Regions from separate parts of the Homo sapiens genome. Here regions 1, 2, 3, 4 and 5 are each linked to region 6. Evidence: promoter capture Hi-C in 16 types of primary human blood cells and fetal thymus (Javierre and others, 2016). All regions are on one chromosome and are shown on one strand. Each heading gives the region's core, a stretch centred on a gene start or on the middle of the fragment in contact. The rest is flanking DNA. Distances are from core to core; before and after follow the strand shown.

Region 1 (3,706 bases), core at 453-2,952, 410 kb after region 6:
TAGTAGGGCAGACATTAAGCATTTCATGTGCATTTTTTTTTTCTTTTTGAGACAGGGTCTCACTCTATCTCCCAGGCTGGAGTGCAGTGGCACTAACACAGCTCACTGTAGCCTCAATCTGCAGGGCTTAAGCGATCCTCCCACCTCAGCCTCCTGAATAGCTGGGATTACAGGCATGCACTACCATGACCAGCATATTTGTATTTTTTGTAGAGACGGGTTGTTACTATGTTGCTCAGGCTAGTCTTGAACTCCTGACCTCAGCCTCCCAAGTAGCTAGGAATACAGGCACATGCCACCACAGCCAGCATATTTTTGTATTTTTTGTAGAGACAGCTTACTGCCATGTTGCTTAGGCTGATCTTGAACTCCTGAGCTCAAGGGCTCCACAGGCCTTGGCTTCCCAAAGTGCAAGGACTAAGGTGCAACTGCCACACCCAGCCTTTCATATGTATTATCTTATTTAAGCTTCACTTTACAAGTGAGAAGGGCAGCCTTGGCTCAGAGAAGTTAGGTGACTTGCAGCAAATCACATAATTGCTAAGTGATGGATCTGAGCTTTAGCCCCAGGACTATCTGACCTTGGGTCTAAACTTATACTACTGTATTTTTCGTTAAGTCAGTCAGAGTTCTATCCTTTGACAGAAAGTATAACCTTCTTTTAAGGCAGAATAAGACCCTCTGCCCAACCCTGCTCTTTCTTTCTCCTCCGCACTAAGAAGACAGCGAATACAGTAGAGGGTTTTGGACTGGGATAGTGGTTGCAGAGAAGATCTGGAACTAAAAATATGGACCAGGGGTAGAAATGGTGGTGATTCCACCAAACTTGGAAACACTTAACAAGACCCCATAACATGCAAGATATGCAAGAAATGGGGTACATTTTCTATACCAGTGCCTTAAGTAAAAAAATTCCTTGTTAAACAAATGATTTAGAGAAGACAGAACCAAATATATATATATAGCTGTGTGTGTATTCTAATAAAGGTTGTTAAAGTCTTAAAGTTAGTGGTGGGAGAAAACAATAAAAAAATATGAAATCTCCCTATGTTAATAAACTAATTTCAAATACCAAGGGTTGGTTTTTGGTTGGGTGAGTCTGTTTTTGCCTTGATTAAAAAGAAGTGATTTTTTTCTTCAGCCTAGTTTTCCTGGTATGAAAGGCAAGAAGGAATGACATTCCATAACTGTTATAGAGGTGAAAACAGTTTTATTTATTGGTGGTCATTACCGGCCTATAACCAGGGCACAACCTTCTTGGTAAACATTTACCAAGCATTAGTGGAAGATGATTCACTAACTTTTAAAACTCTCCTTCCCTTATATGCATATTAATACCACGATATCTTTAGCTTTTAAGTCCATATATACAGGCACAGGTGCGAATAAATTCAAACATATCACTTGTAGTGGTTTACATAAGGGCTTGCTAGTTCAAATGGGGTTGTTAGTTTTGCATCTCAAATTAGTTCCTGTCAACCCAGCAACTAAAGAAAATTCCTTTGTGAAAAAAGTTTCCAGGCATGACCCAGTAATTGTTTTAATGGATTTTCAATGAAGGGTGAAGTACCATGCTATGTAGCCTGTGGGCATTCCATAAATATATTTTGACTGATTCTGTTAACAAACTACATAGAAAAAACCAAATACTTACTATCCAATCCTCTTATATTGTTTCCCATAGGCTCTGTCTGTTAGTGTATTTATAAGCATTTAAAGTGTATAAGGGAGCTCTGGCAGTGAGAGTGAATTGCCCAATGCAGAGAAGCACTCTGGGCTGGAGGGTTTTACTTAGTCTAAGATTTTCTTTTTTTTTTTTTGTGAGACGGAGTCTGGCTCTGCCGTCAGGCTGGAGTGCAGTGGCATGATCTTGGCTCACTGCAGCTTCCGCCTCCTGGGTTCAAGCGATTCTCCTGCCTCAGCCTCCCGAATAGCTGGGAGTACAGGTGCATGTCACCACGCCTGGCTAATTTTTGTATTTTTAGTAGAGACAGGGTTTCACCATGTTGGCCAGGATGTTCTCGATCTCTTGACCTCGTGATCCACCCTCCTCGGCCTCCCAAAGTGCTGGGATTACAGGCGTGAGCCACTGTACCAGGCTACTTAGTCTAAGATTTTCAGTGTGCACCTGAGATTTGCCCTTTCCAAAATGAGGAAGAGGCCTGAAGCCGATCAGCTGAAAGAAGTACTAAGCCCTGCAGGCTGAAAAGGTAATGTCCCACCTATGCTGGAGGACCTGATGTTGGTATAGTCAATTTTCTGTCTTCTATGTAAGGTATAGATCTGCTCTGATCTTGACATTGTGAAGAAAGCTACTATACTGTCAGAATCTGCTGTAATATAGCCCTGAGATGAGAAAGGTGTGTAGAACAGAAATCTTCACTGCCCTTCTCCCAAAACATTCATTGACCCCTCCTGTAAGATATATATATATATATAATTATTATTTTTTCTAGACAGAGTCTCGCTCTGTTGCCCAGGCTGGAGTGCAGTGGTGCAGTCTTGGCTCACTACAATCTCAGCCTTCCAGGTTCAAGGTTCCCAGGTTCCCAAGCAGATTCTCGTGTCTCAGCCTCTTGAGAACTGGGGCTACAGGCACACGCCACCACACCTGGCTAAGTTTTATATTTTTAGTAGTGATGGAGTTTTGCCATGTTGGCCAGGCTGGTCTTGAACTCTTGATCTAAGGTGATCCGCCAACCTTGACCTCCCAAAGTGCTGAGATTACAGTCATGAGCCACCGCGCCCGTCCTGCATTCTTGCTGTGTGTGTGTAACCCTTGCTATAGTTATATAATTTAGGTTGAATTTAATTTATACGTTGACTATGATCTGAGGGTCAAGATCATTTGGGATAAAGGAGAGATCAACTACATGTCCGTATACTGCAAGTTAGAATTTAGTTAAGAAGGCCCTGAGTAGATTCCAGAATTATAATAAAGCTTTCATTTTTAGTTTGAGGAAACTTCAATATGGGCGACAGAACAAAGAACTCGGGTGGTAGGAATTAAGTTGGTAGGAATTAAGAGGGTGCCTGCCAGACGGGCTGGAAGTGAAGGAAGCCATGTGCCTGCAAAGCTGTTTAGGGCTGCCATGTGTTTATGCCCTGGCAGAAACCTCTGGTTAGAAGTTAGATCGCTTACATTTTTCTTAAGTAACCCATTTTGTTACATCCATATGTTTTCCCTCTTTCCAGAAGGAAAAAAAAGTATCAGCGAGCCCTTCCTCACGGATCAGGAAGCTCAAGGGATTACTCAAGTACATTGGCGGCAGTTACAAAGATATTTTCTTTTTTTTTTTTTTTTTTTTTGAGACGGGGTCTCGCTCTGTTGCCCGGACTGGAGTGCAGTGGCGCGATCTCGGCTCACTGCAAAGCTCCGCCTCCCGGGTTCACGCCATTCTCCTGCCTCAGCCTGCCAAGTAGCTGGGACTACAGGCGCCCGCCACGACACCCGGCTAATTTTTTGTATTTTTAGTAGAGACGGGGTTTCACCGTGTTAGCCAGGATGGTCTCGATTTCCTGACCTCGTGATCCACCCGCCTCGGCCTCCCAAAGTGCTGGGATTACAGGCGTGAGCCACCGCGGCCTACAAAGATATTTTCAAGCATTGTTCTCCCTACCCCAAATTTCTGAGTCATTTAAGTAGAGAAACAGCTCTTTTGCCCTGGCTCATATATGAAAAAAGTAGAATTCAGGCCAGGCTTCA
Region 2 (3,403 bases), core at 900-3,399, 430 kb after region 6:
TAAAAGAGTGCTTGGTACAGAGTAGATGTTCAACAAATAACTTTTTTTTTTTTTTTTTTTTTTTTTTTTTTTTTTATTGAGACGGAGTGTCTCTCTGTTGCCCAGTCTAGAGTGCAGTGGCGCGATGTCGGCTCACTGCAAACTCCGCCTCCCGGGTTCACGCCATTCTCCAGCCTCAGCCTCCGGAGTAGCGGGGACTACAGGTGCCCGCCACCATGCCTGGCTTATTTTTTGTATTTTTAGTAGAGATGGGGTTTCACCGTGATGGCCCAGGATGGTGTCGATCTCCTAACCTCGTGATCCACCCGCCTCAGCCTCCCAAAGTGCTGGGGTTACAGGCGTGAGCCACTGCGCCCAGCAACTTGTTCTTTTATTTATTTATTTATTTTTGAGACTGAGTCTCTCTCTGTTGCCCAGGCTTCAGTTCAGTGGGGGCGATCTTGGCTCACTGCAACCTTTGCCTCCTGGGTTCAAGCGATTCTCCTGCCTCAGCCTCCCGAGTAGCTGGGATTACAAGCATGCGCCACCATGCCCAGCTAATTTTTTGTATTTTTAGTAGAGACGGGATTTCACCATGCTGGCCTGGCTGGTCTCGAACTCCTGACCTCGTGATCTGCCCGCCTCGACCTCCCAAAGTGTTAGGATTACAGGTGTGAGCCACAATGCCCAGCCTATAATTTGTTCTTGAAAGAAAGAATCAATATTGTAAACATGTCAAATTTCTTAATCTGTGAATTCAATGTAACTCAATAAAAATATCAAAAATAGGCCAGCATGGTGGCTCATGCCTGTAATTCCAGCATTTTGGGAGACCAAGGTGGGAGAATCACCTGAGGTTGGAAGTTTGAGACCAGCCCAGCCAACATGGTGAAACTCTGTGTCTACTAAAAATACAAAAATTAGCCGGCTGTCATGGCAGGCACCTATAATCCCAGCTACTCGGGAGGCTGAGGCAGGAGAATTGCTTGAGCCCGGGAGGTGGAATTTGCAGTGAGCCAAGATTGGGCCACTGCACTCCAGCCTGGTGACAGAGCAAGACTCTGTCTCAAAAAAAAAAAAAAAAAAAAAAAAAATATATATATATATATATATATATATATATACATATTTTTTATATATATATATATTTCCTATAGCTTTGCTTATTATTATTATTATTAAAATTTTACCTTGCAGCTCCAGCTCAAAGGACCTAAAGCTTAATAGAAAAATAATTAAGGACATCTGAAAAAAAAATAAGACTAGCCAAAGAACATCTAAACATTAAGAGTAATGAAGGGAAACTATCAGATAGTAAACTATGTTACAGAGCTATAATAATTGAACAGTTAAGTACAGTCACGGGGAATAACATGCAGATGAACTAACAGAACAGATTCCTATTCACATTTAGGAATATGAATAGGAATTCAGCATATAGGAGAAGTGGTTCTGCAGATCAGTGAAGGAATCAGGGACAACTGCTTATCTAAGAAACAACTATATTTTTACCTTACTCTTCATACCAGAATAAATTCTAAATGCATCCAAGATCTGTATGCAAAATATCAAAGCTTAGAAATTATTAGAAGAAAGTAAAGATTCTATTTTTGTAATCTTAGCATAAGGAAAGTCTAAGCATGAAACAAACTGAAAAGCTATATTGAAATACATTAATACATTTGACTTTGTTTTCTAAAATCTGGTAAAATATTTTTCAGTCAAAAATTATATGACAAACTGAGGGGAATTTTCAACATATACACATGAGACAAATAATAAATTTTCCCCAGTGACACAAGAGAGCAAATCGTGGAAAAAATGTGTAAGTGGCCATTAAACAGATGAAAATGTTCTCAAGTTCACTCAGAATTAACTATATATGTTACAGTAATTAAATACATATTTCATTTATTTAATTGTAAAAAATAAAAACATAATATTTGGTCATGGTGAGCAGACAGAGACTCTCATACACTGCTGTGGGACTGTCAATTGTGGCACCATTTGAAGGGCAATTTGATGATATATATGAAAATTTAAATGCGGCCGGGCTCGGTGGCTCATGCCTGTAATCCCAGCACTTTGGGAGGCCAAGGGAGGCGGATCACTTGAGGTCAGGAGTTTGAGACCAGCCTGGCCAACATGGTGAAATACCATCTCTACTAAAAATACAAAAATTAGCCGGGCATCAGGGCATACTCCTGTAATCCCAGCTGCTCAAAAGGCTGAAGCAGAAGAATCGCCTGAATCTGGGAGGCAGAGGTTGCAGTCAGTCGAGATTGAGCCACTGCAGCCTGGGCAACAGAGTGAGACTCCACCTCAAAAAAAAATGTATATATATATATATAAATGCACATACTTCTTGCTATGTAACTTTAAGCAGTTACTTAAGTAAAGTTACTTTACTTGCTGTGCTTTCTTAGGCATAATTTTCTTATCTGAAAACTGGAAATAATAGTACCCACCTCGCAGCGTTCCTATGAGCATTACATGAGATTATGCCTGCAAAGTGCTCAGATTTTTCTCATTCCTGGTAGCTTGCACATCCAGAACTATGTCTGGCCCACAGTGGGTACCTGGTGAACATCTGCTGAATGAAGAAATTAATAAAACCACTCAATAAACATTAGCTGTTGTTAGTTATTATTTGCCTCTATAATTTCACTTTTTACAATTTATTCTACAGCTAGAGATGTGTGTAAAGATATAGGTGTAGTATGTTTATTAGTAGCATTGTTTGTAAAACAAAAAGCCAGAAACAACCTAAGCTTCCATAAATAGGGGACTGATTACAAATGTACAATAAACCTATGCAATGGAATATTAGCCAGCCAGTAAAGTAAAAAAGATGGAGATACATGAACTGATAGAAAGAGATGCCCTAAAAATATCGATGGGTTAAAAAAGGCAAGTTGCAGAACAGTACAAATAATCTGAGACAAAGGTCTCACTGTGTTGCCCAGGCTGGTCCTGAACTCCTGGGCTTAAGTGATTCTCCTGCCTCAGCCTCTCAAGTAGCTGGAACTACAAGCCTGTGCCACTATGCCTGGCTAATTTGTACTTTAAAAGAATAGAGAGGATGGGCACAGTGGCTCGTGCCTATAATTTCAGCACTTTGGGAGGCCAAGGCAGGTGGATTGTCTGAGCTGAGGAGCTCAAGACCAGCCTGGGCAACATGGCAAAACCCCGTGTCTACCAAAAAAATTTTAAAAAAATTAGCCGGGTGTGGTGGTGCACGCCTATGGTGCCAGCTATTCGGGAGGCTGAGGTGGGAGGATCGCTTGCACCTGGGAAGTGGAGGTTGCAGTTAGTGGAGATTGTGCCACTGCACTCCAGCCTGGGTGACGGAGTGAGACCTTGTCTCAAAAAATATATTAATAAATAAAATAAAAGGAATAGAGATACATATGCTTATATATGC
Region 3 (3,437 bases), core at 314-2,813, 360 kb before region 6:
TGGTCCCGAGTTTTTATTTGTGGGTATATTTTTGATTATTGATTTAATATCTTTACTTTTTATAGCTCTATTCAGATTGTCTCTTTTTTCATGAGTCAGTTTGGGTAGGTTGTGTCTTTTTAAGAACTTTTCCATTTTATCTAAGTTATCTAGTCTATTGATACAGTTACTGTTACTATTCCTTTAGCGTCTTTTTTATTTCTGTAAGGTTGGTAGTAATGTCTCCTTTTCCATTTCTGATTCTAATAACTTGATTCTTCTTTTTAAATTGGTCAACCTAGCTAAAGTCTTGTAAGTTTTGTTGATCCTTTTAAATAATCAACTTTTAGTTTTATTGATTTTCTCTATGTTTAAAAATTCTCTTTTATTAATTTCTGCTCTAACCTTTATTAGTTTCTTCATTTAGCTTGCTGTTAATATAGTTTGCTCCTTTTTTCATTTCTTTGAGCTGGAAAATTAAGTTATTGATTTCAGATCTTTCTTCATATGATAGGCATTCAAAATACGAACTTCCTTCAAAGTACCACATTAGCAGCATCACATAAATTTTGTCTGTTGTGTGTTTTTTTCTAATTTAACTCCTTATTGTTTGATTTTCACATATTTCTTAATTTTCCAAGTTTCCTTTTACTATCAGTTCCTAATTTTATTTCATTCTGTTTGAGGAACATAGTTTGTATGATCACAATCCTTTTAAACTTATTAAGATTTGTTTTATGGACTTGCATATGGTCTATCCCTGAGAGCATTCCATGTAAACTTGAGAAGGCTCTGTATTCTATGTTGTTGGGTTGAGTTTTTATAGATTTTTTTTTATGTCTAGTTGACTTATAATGTTGTTCAAGTCTTTTATTTCCTTGATCTTCTGTATTGTCATTTTGTTCATTATTAAAAATAGGCTATTATTGAATTGCCTTTTTTTTTTTTCAAGACGGAGTCTTGCTCTATTGCCCAGTCTGGAGTGCAATGATGCAATCTTGGCTCACTGCAACCACTGCCTCCTGGGTTCAAATGATTCTCCTGCCTCAGCCTCCAGAGTAGCTGGGATTACAGGCGCCCGCCACCACATCCAGCTAATTTTTGTATTTTCAGTAGAGATGGAGTTTCGCCATGTTAGCCAGGCTGGTCTCGAACTCCCGACCTTGTGATGTGCCTGCCTCAGCCTCCCAAAGTGCTCAGATTTACAGGCGTGAGCCAACACACCTGGCCTGAATTGTCTTTTTTACACCTTCATTTCTGTCAATTTTTGCTTCATGTATTTTGGTAGTTCTGTCATTCGGTGCATATGATTATAATTTTATATCTTCTTGACAGAGGCACCTTTTTAATCATTAAAAAGTATCTGTGTTTAGCTCTAGTAATTTTTTTTGTTTTAAAGTCTATTTTGTCTATTAGTATAGCCACTTTAGATTTCCTGCGGTTGCTGTTTACATTATATATTTTTCTATGCTTTTACTTTGATTATGTTTGTATCTTTGAGTCTAAAGTGTGTCTCCTGTAAGCAATATGTAGTTGAATCATGATTTTTTGTCCAGTCTGACAATCTCTGACTCTTGATTGAATTGTCAATTCACTTACATTTAATGTTAATATTAATATAGTTGGATTTACACCTACCACTTTACTTTTTGTTTTCTTTATGCCTCATTTTATATCTTTTTTTCCTCTATTTCTCCTTTACTTTTTTTCTTTACGTTAACTTCAAATGTAGCATTTTAATTTCTTTAATGATTTTTATGGTATTGTTTGAGTCATTATCTCAAGGGCCTCCCATCTTACATCATAACTTATCACAATTAGCTTCAGATTTATAATAAGTTAACCCCAGAGCAATACAAAAACATCACTTCTATCTAATGCTATTCTTTTTTCCTCTTTTGTGCTATTACTCTTATACCTATTACATACATGGATATTATAATTCAACAATGCATTGCTATAATTATTATTTTATATAATTTCATGTCTTTTTTATAGTATAATGCCTGTATCATGGCTGACTTTTATGGAGGAGAGTTTTTTTTTCTTCAACTTTTATTTTACGTTCTGGGGTACATGTGCAGGATATGCAAGTTTGTTATGTAGGTAAATGTATGCCATGATGGTTTGCTGCACAGATCAATTCATCACCCAGGTATTAAGCCCACCATCCATTAACTATTCTTCGTGATGCTCTCTCACCCCACCAATTTCATGTCTTTTAAAGAAAGTTGAGAGAAGAAAGGAAAGCAAGTATATATTCATAGTTTTTGTTATAATAAACTTCTTACTTACTATTTCTGGTTTTCTTTCTTTCTTTCTGTGGATTCAAATTACCGTCTAGAGTAATTATCTTAGCCCAATACAGCTCTGCTTCCACCCACCTCTTTTCTACTGTTATTGGCAAATATATTACATTTATATATGTTATATGCCCTAAATTACATACACATTGTTTTTTTTTGTTTGTTTGTTTTTATACACATTGTTTTTTACAACTGCTTTTAAACCAGTTAAAGGAAGGGAGAAAATATGCATTTATACTATCTTTTATAATTACATAATTACCTTTACCAGTTTTTTTTTTCCATGGGAATTCAGATTGCATTCTGGGGTCACTTGTTTTCAGTCTGAATAAATTCATTCTTTCTTGTAGGGTGGATCTGCTAGAAACAAAGTCTCTTAATTTTTGTTTATCTGAGAATATTTTTAGCTTCACTTTTGAAGATAGCTTTGTTGTACATAGACGTTTGGTTGACTTTTAGTTTTTTCTTTGAGCACTGAAATGATTATTCCCCCTCCTTTCAGCTTCTGTTGTTTCTTATGAGAAACTAATTTTATTGGGGTACCTTTGTAAGTGATGAGTCTTTTTTCTCTTGACGCTTTTCACATTTTTTTTCCTGTGCTTGGATTTTAATATTTCTACTATGATTTATCTGGATTTCTTCATGCTTATTGTACTTAGTGTTCATTGAGCTTCCTGGATATGCAGATTGTTGCTTTTCATTGTATATATTTGGGATGTTTTTAGTCATTATTTCTACTGATACTTTTAATGCTCTCTCTCTCATTCTCTCTGCTGCTTCTGGTATTCCCATTAAGCATATATTAGTGTGCTTAATGGTGTTTTACATTTCTCTGAATCTTTGTTCATTTCTCTTTATTATTTTTCTCTCTGTTTTCTGGCTTCATGCTCTATATTGATTTATCTTTATCTTTACATTTGCTAATTCTTTCTTTGATCAATTAAAATCTACTTTTGAGTCCCTTTAATATTTTTCATTTAAGTTATTGTATTTTGAACTCCAGAATTTTTATTTGTTCTATTTCTCTTTATTGATATTCTTTATTTGATACAACATTGTCATCATACCTTCTTTTGCTTCCTTAGTCATGAATTCTTTTAGTTCTTTGAACACAATTAAAATGGATATTTTAAAGTCATTGTCTGTTGCTAA
Region 4 (3,677 bases), core at 205-2,704, 320 kb before region 6:
TTTGTATCCTACTCATGTTCCTCTTTCATATCAGTAAATTAAATATGTATCCACATCATGATTTATATGGCTAGCTGATGTTCCCTGAAGGTAGAAGGGGACTTCCCTGAGAAACTGTTATCCCAGCTGAGATCTGAAAGTGAAAACCTTTCTAGGCGGGGGTAATAGCATGCGCAAAGCCTTCATTGGAAAGATGTAAAGTATATTTGAAGAACTTGAGGAAAGAGAGGAAAAAAATTGAGATAAAACTTGAGAGGCAGAAAAGCAAATGATGACTAAAGGCTCTGCTCTTTAAAGATTGCGATCTCTACATTAGGGGGCTTAAGAAAATGTAAGACAGTTTTAAGCAGCATTGAGTTTCGGCACATTGTGGAAGAGAGAATGTGAAAGATAATTCTAGCTACAGTCAGGAGAGCAGTTGTAGGGCGCAAGAGCACCTTCAGGGAGACAAATAAGGAAGATCACTGGGCTATAGAATTTTGAGATATTTGGTCAGGAAAAAAAGAGGAAAGATAATCACTAGGGCAGAGAAATGCTGCGGGGAATGTGTGTGGGTTAAGGCCCTGCTTTAGCCTCGTGTGACAATGTCAGAACAAAGCTTCATTTTCTGCCTTACGTTTCTATACCTGAATGTGCACTACAAACCATGTTTTAACTCTAATTATCAGGTAAAGCCCCACACGGTATCTTCTGGGAATACCCAGAGGATTAGAACCAACAGAGGATAGTAACAAGATAAGAATGAGCATAATCGTACCCCACTCTGTGGGATTCGAATATTTTATTACAAATGAGTTTTCTCTCAGATGAGCTTTCACGCATCTGAGAGATTGAAAGGAAAAAAAGAAGTTGGGGTAAGTTTTTTTTTGAGGGGGGTGTGGAAGGCCAAATGTTTATTTCTAAAGTTTCATCAAATTTGCTGTATTGTGCATAGCTGCATGAAGATCTGAGACAGATTCCCATCTACATCCACAAACTAATTGTGTGGCTTAAAGAAAATTACCTAACATCCCTAAATCTCATTTCATCTTCTGTAAAATGATCTCATAGAACTCATAGGTAAATTACATTAGATAATATATAAAAAGCAATTACGCAGTGCCTGGTGAGGAATAAGGACTCAATGAATGGTAACTTATTACTCTAGGCAGATCTTCTGAAAAGCTACCTTAGACTACACTTCTCAAACTCTTTCTCTGCCCACACCAAATGGAGGTATAAAAAATAAAGAAATAGTGATTTGAGAGGGTTCAACTACAGTAGACGTAGTTACAGGAAAAAGGAGATAACTAATAAGCCACAGAATGTGCGAAAACTGCATAAGCAAACTTTAAAAAAAATGTAGGCCAGGTGTGGTGGCTCACATCTGTAAGCCCAGTACTTTGAAAGGCCAATATGAGAGGATCACTTTAGCCCAGGAGTTTGAGACCAGCCTGGGGGCAACATAATGAGATCTCATCTCTAAAAGAAATTTCAAAAATTGTCTGGATGTGGGGTGCACACCTATAGTCCCAGATGCTCTGGAGGCTGAGGTGGGAGGATCTCTTGAGTGGGGAGGTCCAGGCTATAGTGAACCATGATTGCACCACTGCACTCCAGCCTCGGTAACAGAGCAAGATTCTGTCTCAGAAAAAGAAAATTGTGGTAAAATACACAAAGCATAAAATTTAACATCTTAACCATTTTGAAATATATAGTACAGTAGTGCTAAGTTTATTTACATTGTTGCTTGACTATCTACATTGTTGCTCAACTAATCTCCTGGACTTTTTCATCTTGCAGAACTGAAACTCTATTACCATTAAACAACTTCTCCATTTCCTTCCAACATCTGTGGCTCCTGGGAACCAGCATTCTAATTTCTTTTTCCATGAATGTGACTACCCTAGGTACCTCATGTTACTGGATTTAAACAGTCTTTTTGTGACTGGCTTATTTCACTTAGCATAATGTCCTTGAGGCTTATCCATGTTGTGGCATGTGTCAGAACTTCCTTTCTTTTTAAGTCTGGATAATGTTTTGTTGTGTGTATATACCACATTTAGTGTATCCATTCATTGAATGAATACTGGGTTGCTTTCGACTCTTGCCTATTGTGATTAATGCTGCTAGGAACGTGGGTGTACAAATGTATCTTCAAGACCCTGCTTTTATTTCTTTTGTATGTATAGCAAGAGCTGGAATTGCTGGATCATATGGTAATTCTGTTTTTACTTTTTTAAGAAAATACAATACTGTTTTCCATATCATCTGCACCATTTTACATTCTCGTCATTAGTGTACAAGGGTTCCAATTTATCACATCATAGCCCAAGCTTATTACTATTGTAATTTTTAAAATAGTAGCCATCCTTATTGAAGTGATATGTCATTGTGGTTTTAATTTGCATTTCCTCAATGCTCAGTGATATTGAACATCTTTCCATATACTTATTTGCCATTTGTGTCTCTTCTTTGGATAAATGTCTATTTAAGTCCCTTACCCATTTTTCAATCAGGTTATTTGCTTTTGTTGCTGTTGTTGTTAATGAGGTAAGATTTTAAAAAGTGAATATGTGTGTCTGTGTGTGTTTATGTATGTGTGCACATGTGTTTTAAATAAAATCTCATGTTGTGTGCTTTTAGATATAGGAAAGATTTAAATGGTTAAAGTTTCTCTTTTCAGTGCCAGTCATTGCAAGACTAATTTAGAAAAAGCCAAAAAGTTGGTCATTCAGATTTTGTTTTTTATATATCATCAGTTTTACCTAAACATGAATATATATTTAAATTCAGACATAATATTATTCTGTATCTTAATTATTTCGCACACGTTCCTCTGTATCGATAAATATACAATTGCATCACAATTTGAATGGGTAAAGAGCTATCCATTCATTCATTCAGCAAACCTACACTGGAAGCTTACTATGTCACTGGGCTATGTCCTATGGATACAATGGTGAGCAAGACACACATAATCCCTACTTTTATGAAACTTTCCATTGTCTAGAAAAGAAATCTGTTATAGAAGTATCAGTGTGTTGAACATCTGTCCCTAAACACTATTCAGGCTTTACCAGATATCATGACATGTAGATTCTTCTACAAATACCCTGCACTAGTAGAACAGCAAACTAACACTAGGGTTATTTGAATCCAGCATATCATCTCTGATAGGCATCTCCAAAGTGTGGGAATAAGATGCTATGACATCTTGGATTTTTGCCAATCAAGTTAGGAGGAGCCATAGAATCCTCCTATTGCAATAAAACCGTTTAACTATGCTTGAAGGAGCTTCATTTTATCCTTTTTGCTTCATGCTATTTGTAAAGTAAGCATTTTTATTAGAGATTTTTACTTGTTTTTGTTTACTGGTTTCAAATACGAAGGGAACTTTGGGGACTATAAATGGAATAGAAAAACTACAAATAACTAAAATGTCATGGAAACTAGGAGCTGGCGTGTCTGTGGGATCCCCAATTAATAGTACCATTTCTTTCACTTTAGATTCTGAGAAAGTCGAGAAACAGTTATCAACTCCAGTCTTGTTGGAAGTTAAGTTACAAAAAGTAACTTGCTGGGAGAATCAAATGAGCATGCCAATTAAGCCCCATAATTAGACCATCTTGTCTTCAACAACACTGGATGGAAAGACTTTCCCCCTGCGTTTACACTAAAGAGTATTTTGACATATT
Region 5 (3,595 bases), core at 920-3,419, 340 kb before region 6:
TTGCTAGAATAATTCGGAGTTCTTTGGAGATTTGCTACTGTTGACCCAATAACTGTCATTAAGAGGATCTTATATTTTACCCTTCCCTAGGTAGATGCAATCTAGTTCCACTGAGAAACTCTACTGAGTCTTCTGATTGGGTCCTAGGAAGAGAAAGAGAGAATCGATGGCATGGGAAATCTAATCCTGAAGTTCTTTCCCCATGTAACTCTGCGTTCCTAAGGCCACAGTGTAACCTAAGCTTTAGCCTTCCCTCCCTGTTGTTGGGTCATCTTCTCCAGGGACATAATGGGAAAGGCTTTATCTAATGTCTTTTCTCATTTACCTCCCTGGAAGGTGTCCCTTCAGTACTGTGTGTCCTTGGTGCTGCTGAGCTCTGTCTGGCTCTCTGATCGTTTCAACACCTGGCACCCCTGGAGAGGCTACCGAGGAGAGAATGCGGGTGAGCTGCCACCAGTGGAGCTCTGAGGTTATCACAGCCTGATAAACGAACTCACAGGACACTCCCAATCCAATACGGCGCTGATGGGGTTTAAGACACTGATGCAGATGAGAAGCACAACTGCACAGCATATGTACTTCTAGTGAGAATTCATCAAATATCCCAGGCATGGCTTCCAGACCCCACCACTGTGTGGCCCATGCTTGTTTGTGAAAGGTGAGTCAAATATGTGAGGATTCTTCAGCACAAGGAAGCTGGCATTGCATATGAATCATGTGGATCCTTCCTGGGCGTGTGACCTGCTCTGTTTCACTGCAGCCCATCACATGAGTTACATCATATGGTAAGGAATCTCAACAACCAGGTTCTGTTGCTCTCAGTATCCTCAGAACATTGCACAGAACTTGGCAACCTTTAAAATATGCCTCATTTATGATCAGTTGAGCAGGTTCTTCATCTAGGTAGTGTGATCCATTTGGACATCTCTGGGTCCGTAGATGAGTTTGACAGTCCAGCTGATGAGGCCTCTCCCTTCAGTGAAACGGACCGCACTTCCCCCTCATGTTTATTTTTCTTCATCCTTCACAATATCACCCATGGGTTGTGAATATATACCAGATGTTTTAATAGGTGTGATACAGAGAATTCTATAAAATAAACACTGCAATATTCGTTTTTTCATGAAAAATTCACCCAAGATGTTAAACCCTTCGCAGAATCAGATATGCCCAGTGTTTAATCTTGCTTCATTCCCTTCATGCCCACATCGTTCTGAAAATTCTTCTTCTAACCCGTTTCTATAACTAGTAATCAAATTTCTAGAAAGCCTAATCCCTACCCATGAGACTGAATTTCACCCTGACCTTCATCACGCTACATCCAGCAGCACTGACTTCCACCAGTTTGTTTCAATATTCCTCTTTGCTACCTATGAGCCACCTGCTTAGCCTTACAAATCTCCCATGGGAAAACATTAATTTTTCAGAATCAGTAAAGCCTGTGTTGATGAGAAGAAACATATAGTTTAAGCCGTGATAATTTGCAAGATTGCCTCTCTCACCATGGAATTAGTGTCTCGCCTTATTGGGCAGAGCACTATCAATTTCTTTTCTACATTCTCCCTTTCAATTCTGCCTCCTTATTGTACATAAAAATAAGCAATAGGCTTAAGAGTGAGTCACACACTTTTCAATTGCCTCCTACTGGATGCTTTAACATTTTGATGAAATCCTCAGGCCAGCAGTTCAGTAACAGAAGTCAGCATGCATTAGAAAAAAAACCAATATTTTATTTAAACAACATTCCTTGAATTTTCCTCTTACGAATAGAAAAAAAAAGCTGGATCAAAGATAATCTAAGATAATTCTCACCATATGAACACAAAGAGATGCAATATCATTATGATAATTGAGGTGAATTTTTCTCTATATAGCTTAGCTTTATTCCAAAAAAGGAATCCTGCCTTATGCAGAAAATCTTCTTAATTTTTATTCATGTACAGAAATTGAAAAATGTTTAATTTTGAGTAAGCTTTCTTCTAAAAAATGTTTAGATTCAGTGTTCTGACGTAAGGGAGATTATGATTTTTAGTGGATGTTTTTGCAGTGATATAGGTTCTCTTCCAAGGCTTCTTCCGTAGAAATCAGAAAAGGACCAAAAATTGTTTACTTTGCAGGCAAATCCAATGATAAATAGCAATTTAATATCTGCTATGCGCATAAGCTATATTTACTTTAAAAGCATGGGTACTAGCAAATTTTCATACTAAGATACAGGGTTTAGGAATGAAGTTAAAGACACAGTACTATTTAATGCGAAGTTTTTTTGAAAGCTGCTAAGAAAAGAATATTCAAAATTCCTTTAGAAGTTCATCATCTTCTCATTTATTTTCATGAATAAAGTTTGTTCTTTAAATATTTTATGTGAAGCTTGTTTCACACTTTCATTTCTCAGGCTAGAAATCAAGGAGTTCAAGGAGATGGTCACACACAAGTTCGGTCTCTGAATCACAGAATCGCAGAGAGCTCTCGGTCTGAGCTTCTGTCCATGGCCACAAAGAGTTGCAGACTGCAGGTTGAGCAATGCAGGTTGAGAAAGCAAAGAGGTGAGCAAGGCAGGTTGAGAAAGCTCCATGCACACTGTCTGCAGAGATAATTTTTGGTATGTCAATTTCATTGCAGATATAAGATATGGAAATAATGGAAAAGAGAGAGAAAGAGAGAGAGAGACTAAGAGAGAGACAGAGAGAGAGACCGGCATAGGGCTTAGTATATGCTTGCATAGGTCACAGTTTGACTTCAGGAATGTGATGGGAATGACAGCCATAACTTCGTTGGCACAGGATTAGGGTAGCTGCCTAATATAGCATCAGGAGATTGACATGTAGCTAGCAGCCTCTCCAGGGCCCTGTGGTGAGCAGTATATACAGTTTGTGTGTAATGGTGTGCATACCTTGCAGTGGATATCCAATGGCAATAAAAGGGTGGCACTGTGTCAGTGAATGCAAGAAGATCTCGGGGCAGTACAGGCAAGGAAAGGAGAAAACATGGACAGCAGCACCCTGAACATTGATGGCTCATTTCTGCGTTGAAGGTAAAGCAATAATTGAAGACAAACTCATGCCAATCACAATGATATTTTTCAAGGAAAAAAATACATGCATGATGTGTGAAATCCCAAGGAACAAACAAGGGTCCTGAATATAACATTTCCCAAAAGGGTACAAAATTTATAAGATATAATCAGGATAATGAAATACAATCTCCAGCCCTCAGCCATTCACAGTAACAAACTCAGACATCACTGTGTGATTTCTCATTTTAAAGAAGAATCGACACAAGATATCAATGAAAGGAATATTTTGCTTAAGGTAAAAATCTTTCTAAACAAATAGCCTTTATGTACAACAAGCAGAAAAGCCATAAAAAACTGTTGCTAATTTATAACTTGGATTGGCAGGCATTCTTTTTTTTTTATATATCTGTCTCTAAATTGAGCTTTCTAATTTCAGATAATCCTCATTAGCACCCTTCCCAGAGGAAACTCTTTGAATAGAGTCATTATTTTTTCCATATGTTTTCACCTTATAAATCTTCATAAAACCAGCAAATCACGCTCTTCCCTATTCTCCCACCCTTAGCTTCTGTCTCCCTC
Region 6 (3,609 bases), core at 976-3,475:
ATATTTAAGGTACCTCAAATGGTGCACAAACACATGGTGCAAGTTCAGTAACTGTTAAGTGTCATTATTATCATAATCAAAGCATAATCCAAGTATCAGAGTTTTTCTCCTCCAAAGATCTTCCTCTAGCAGATTTGGAGAAGATAGATAGAGTTTGTCTCACGTCTCCTGTTGGTCAGACCTGTGCTGCAGTTGCTTCTCTGCCCTGCTCTCAGCTCTCCCTCAGAATGTCTCCTGGCCACGAGCTGGAGCACTGAACTCTTCAATGTAGAACAGCAGAACCTTTAGCAGAGTAATACAGAGTGGTCTTTGGCACTCAAAATCCAGATCCCTTCCAGACTCCCTGAGAGTGGGACGTGTAATATGACTCCTCTTTCTTTCCGATTCTATATTGATTAACTGTAATACACATACAGACACACACACACACACACACACACACATATAAACATGCACACACGTTGTCAGAACTGTAAAATCTAAATCCACTTTAAAGAATAAGCAATCTTCCTAAAATCCAGTAGTGTGCTTAGTATCTCCAGAGCAAGGCAGAGGCCACATTTTACAGATCATGCAAATCCGTGGAGTTCTTCCTTGTTTCTTCTTCCAGCCTGAGTCTCCGGAGCCTAAGAAATTGGCCCAATTACACAGGATCACTTACCCCTGATTACCATTCCAAGGCCCAGAAGCTTTAGAACTTTGAAATAAAAGATTTGGATTTGATTTATCCTTACAGAGCAGATCATAGAAAATTCTTGTGTGAGGGCTTCTTTTATGTACATACATGTATATGAAAAGGAGGGTTTATGATCTTCCTGACCAAGCAACCTCCTGAAGAGCTGGATATATAATCATATTAGCACTGGCACCAAGGTATCTACCATTGATCTTTAATAAGTCTGCTTATGTAACTAAAGAGAAAACACTCCTCAACCTTTATACCACCACCTGCCCCTTGTTCCAGCCAGAAACGTTCTTGCTCAGAAAAACCCATTTAGCCTACCAAGAAAAGAATGGAAGGCATGGAGCCTCATCTTACTCATCTCTTGGGCCTAATACAGAGTTCAGTAAACAAAAGGCATTTCATAGACACTAACTTGCAGGCAGTGAGCCAATTTAATTGTTGCAAAATAATATAGTCCTCAAGGAGAGTATAGGAAAGAGATTTCCAATTTTTAAAAGTGGAGAGGAGACCCTCTTTGAGGAAAAATATTAAAATTCCTCCGCCTATAAATAGAAAGACACTTGAGTATCATGCTTACCGAGAATCGGTTGCCAGTGATATGAAGAGACCCATTAGAAGAGCACTCTCTTCAGGGTTTTGCCCAGGGCAAGTTTATCATCCTTATTCCTCAAACTGTAGATCGAAGGGTTAAGCATGGGAACCACATTGGTGTAAAAGACTGAGGCAAATCTGCCATGGTTCATAGAGCCAGGAAAAGATGTTGTTAAGTAGGTGAATGTCCCTGACCCAAAAAACAGAGCAACAGCAATTATGTGGGAGCCCCATGTGCTAAAGGCTTTGGATCTGCCCTCTGCAGAAGGAATACAGAGGATGTTGGAGAGTATCAAAGCGTAAGAGATGACGATGCTTATGCTGGATAGCATGGTGATTACTCCAACAACAATGAAAAATACCAGCTCACTGACATGGGTGCTGGTGCAGGAGAGCTGCAAGAGGGGGAGAACGTCACACAGATAATGGTCAATGACGTTGGAATCACAGAAGGTCAGTCGCAGCATGCTTCCAGTGTGGGCCATGGCCCCAGCAAACCCTACCACATAGGAACCAAACATCAGCAGAAAGCAGACCCTTGGGGACATGGTGACCATGTAGAGCAGGGGGTTGCAGATGGCCACATAGCGATCATAGGCCATTGATACCAACACATAGCACTCAGAATTGACAAAGAAACAGAAGAAAAATAGCTGAGTCATACATCCCACATAAGAGATGATACTTTCTGAAACAAAGTCATTCAGCATTTTGGGGGTAAACACACAGGAATAACAGAGATCTATAAAGGACAAGTTGAAGAGGAAAAAGTACATGGGGGTGTGAAGGCTAGGATTTATCCCAATTAAGGTGATCAAGCCCAAGTTGCCCACCACAGTGAACACATAGATCCCTAAGAATAGAAGGAAAAGAGGGAGCTGGAGCTCTGGCTGTTCTGATAATCCCACAAGGATAAACTCAGTCACTGAGGAGCTGTTTCTCAGAGTCATTCTCTCTTGGCGAGCTGTCTGGGGAAGCAGAGGGCAAAACACAAAGAGTCATGACAGGCACAAGCATGGCTAAGGGAAGAAGACTCTAGTGGACCAGCCAGTGTGCAGATGCCCTCTCTTCCATCCTCCCTCATCTACACACCTCCCCACCCTGAGGTATTAACAACGTGTCTGTGAGAGGATCTCAGCTCTGCTGGGCCGATCATGAATTCAAGCTAGCATCTGTTACCATGGGCAGCAAGAATTCCGTCTCTGCTTGAGAGATGACGAGGGAGACAACACACCTGAATTGGCTGCCCAGGGACTCTCAGAAAGACACCCTGAGAACCAAGAGTACAACCTGGGCCGCTGCCTCAAGAGCTGAGAGACCAGAGCTCTCAAGGTCACCAGGATGCCCTCCCATTCTCTGCCTCCGTCTCCCAACTAGATAGTGGATTTCCATCTGGAGAGAAAGCCAAGAGTGTTACCTGCTGGCTCTTTACATCCCACCCGCCTCCTCGAAGACCCTCCATTCCATCTCACCTCAGGGTCAGTGTTGAGAGCAGAGACGGGATCCATACTTCCCAGAGCCCTTGGTTGTGGGTTTCAAAGAGACCATCAGGAAAGACAGGATTCGGACCTTCACCTTCCTTCTCCCGGGCCCCACTCAGTGCTGGGCCTTACGCCATCTCTTTTTCCATTAGCCAGAAAGAGAAAATGGTGCTGCTTGTGCAGAAAGCACACAGCCTTGCGTATTACCTCTTTTGACTCCCTTGGTGCTGAGAATCAGAGCTTTTACAGACCCCAGGCTCCAAGGTGCTCAAGGAATAGACCATGGTTTCTGTTTGTGGATTTTCCCAGGTGGTCTTGACAACTTCAGGAAAAAAAACTAGGAACTCTCATTTTGACCAGAACCCCAGCTGTCATATCACAGAGGAATTTAAGCTGCTTGACGATCTCAGGGACCTGATTAGACACAGTTTCCCCTGGGAATTTCTCCAAGATCTGTCTCTATAGGGAAGGAATTGCACTGTCTTTGTTTACAGCCTGGATAACGGTGCTTACCTAGCATCTTGGGAGTGGGGGTTCCACTCAAACTTTCCCTCTACTCCAGGGATTTCATGTTATTCAGTGCTGAGTTTGGGGACTCATTTTTTCCTTTCTCATTAACTCTCAGAGCCTAAGCTTGAATTTAAGAGTGAATAGCCCCAACCTAAGCCACCATCTCCAAATCTTCACAGGGAGCTATGAGAGTAGGACCCCTCAGAAAAGGTCAGATCAGATCTACAGAGAGCACCTCAGATAAAAGGCTTCTTGGACCATGCGCTGCTCAGAACAGAAACCACACCACCTCCACCACAAACACCACCTACTCGCAGCTCTAATAAGGGCCGCAGACAGGCC

What was found. The method cuts DNA at HindIII sites, captures the fragments that hold promoters and counts their contacts. A CHiCAGO score of 5 or more calls a contact.
Region 1: a contact is called between a fragment that was not itself captured here and the fragment with the promoter of OR8B4 in region 6, in 3 of 17 cell types (megakaryocytes, erythroblasts and M2 macrophages). The highest score is 7.5, in megakaryocytes.
Region 2: a contact is called between a fragment that was not itself captured here and the fragment with the promoter of OR8B4 in region 6, in 1 of 17 cell types (megakaryocytes). The highest score is 5.1, in megakaryocytes.
Region 3: a contact is called between a fragment that was not itself captured here and the fragment with the promoter of OR8B4 in region 6, in 1 of 17 cell types (erythroblasts). The highest score is 5.5, in erythroblasts.
Region 4: a fragment that was not itself captured here is called in contact with the fragment with the promoter of OR8B4 in region 6 in 1 of 17 cell types (total B cells); the score reaches 5.7 in total B cells.
Region 5: a fragment that was not itself captured here is called in contact with the fragment with the promoter of OR8B4 in region 6 in 1 of 17 cell types (total B cells); the score reaches 5.4 in total B cells.

What each region holds. Positions count from the first base shown.
Region 1 is chr11:124,833,413-124,837,118 of GRCh38, forward strand. MSANTD2-AS1 (MSANTD2 antisense RNA 1) reads left to right here. Exons shown (of 5, transcript NR_103862.1): 5 at 1-1,075. Among named protein-coding and RNA genes, the nearest start is that of ROBO3, 30 kb to the right of the region's middle. The HindIII fragment of the contact is 2,473 bases long and covers 467-2,939 here.
Region 2 is chr11:124,856,898-124,860,300 of GRCh38, forward strand. No RefSeq gene overlaps it. Among named protein-coding and RNA genes, the nearest start is that of ROBO3, 6.8 kb to the right of the region's middle. The HindIII fragment of the contact is 1,197 bases long and covers 1,552-2,748 here.
Region 3 is chr11:124,059,892-124,063,328 of GRCh38, forward strand. No RefSeq gene overlaps it. Among named protein-coding and RNA genes, the nearest start is that of OR10G7, 20 kb to the left of the region's middle. The HindIII fragment of the contact is 6,328 bases long and covers 1-3,437 here.
Region 4 is chr11:124,100,164-124,103,840 of GRCh38, forward strand. No RefSeq gene overlaps it. Among named protein-coding and RNA genes, the nearest start is that of VWA5A, 13 kb to the right of the region's middle. The HindIII fragment of the contact is 1,717 bases long and covers 597-2,313 here.
Region 5 is chr11:124,080,057-124,083,651 of GRCh38, forward strand. It overlaps LOC105369545 (a long non-coding RNA gene), which reads right to left. Exons shown (of 2, transcript XR_948127.3): 2 at 2,301-2,584. Among named protein-coding and RNA genes, the nearest start is that of VWA5A, 34 kb to the right of the region's middle. The HindIII fragment of the contact is 398 bases long and covers 1,971-2,368 here.
Region 6 is chr11:124,422,646-124,426,254 of GRCh38, forward strand. OR8B4 (olfactory receptor family 8 subfamily B member 4) reads right to left here and starts at 2,226. Exons shown (of 1, transcript NM_001005196.1): 1 at 1,297-2,226. The coding sequence starts at 2,226. The coding sequence ends at 1,297. The HindIII fragment of the contact is 2,701 bases long and covers 688-3,388 here.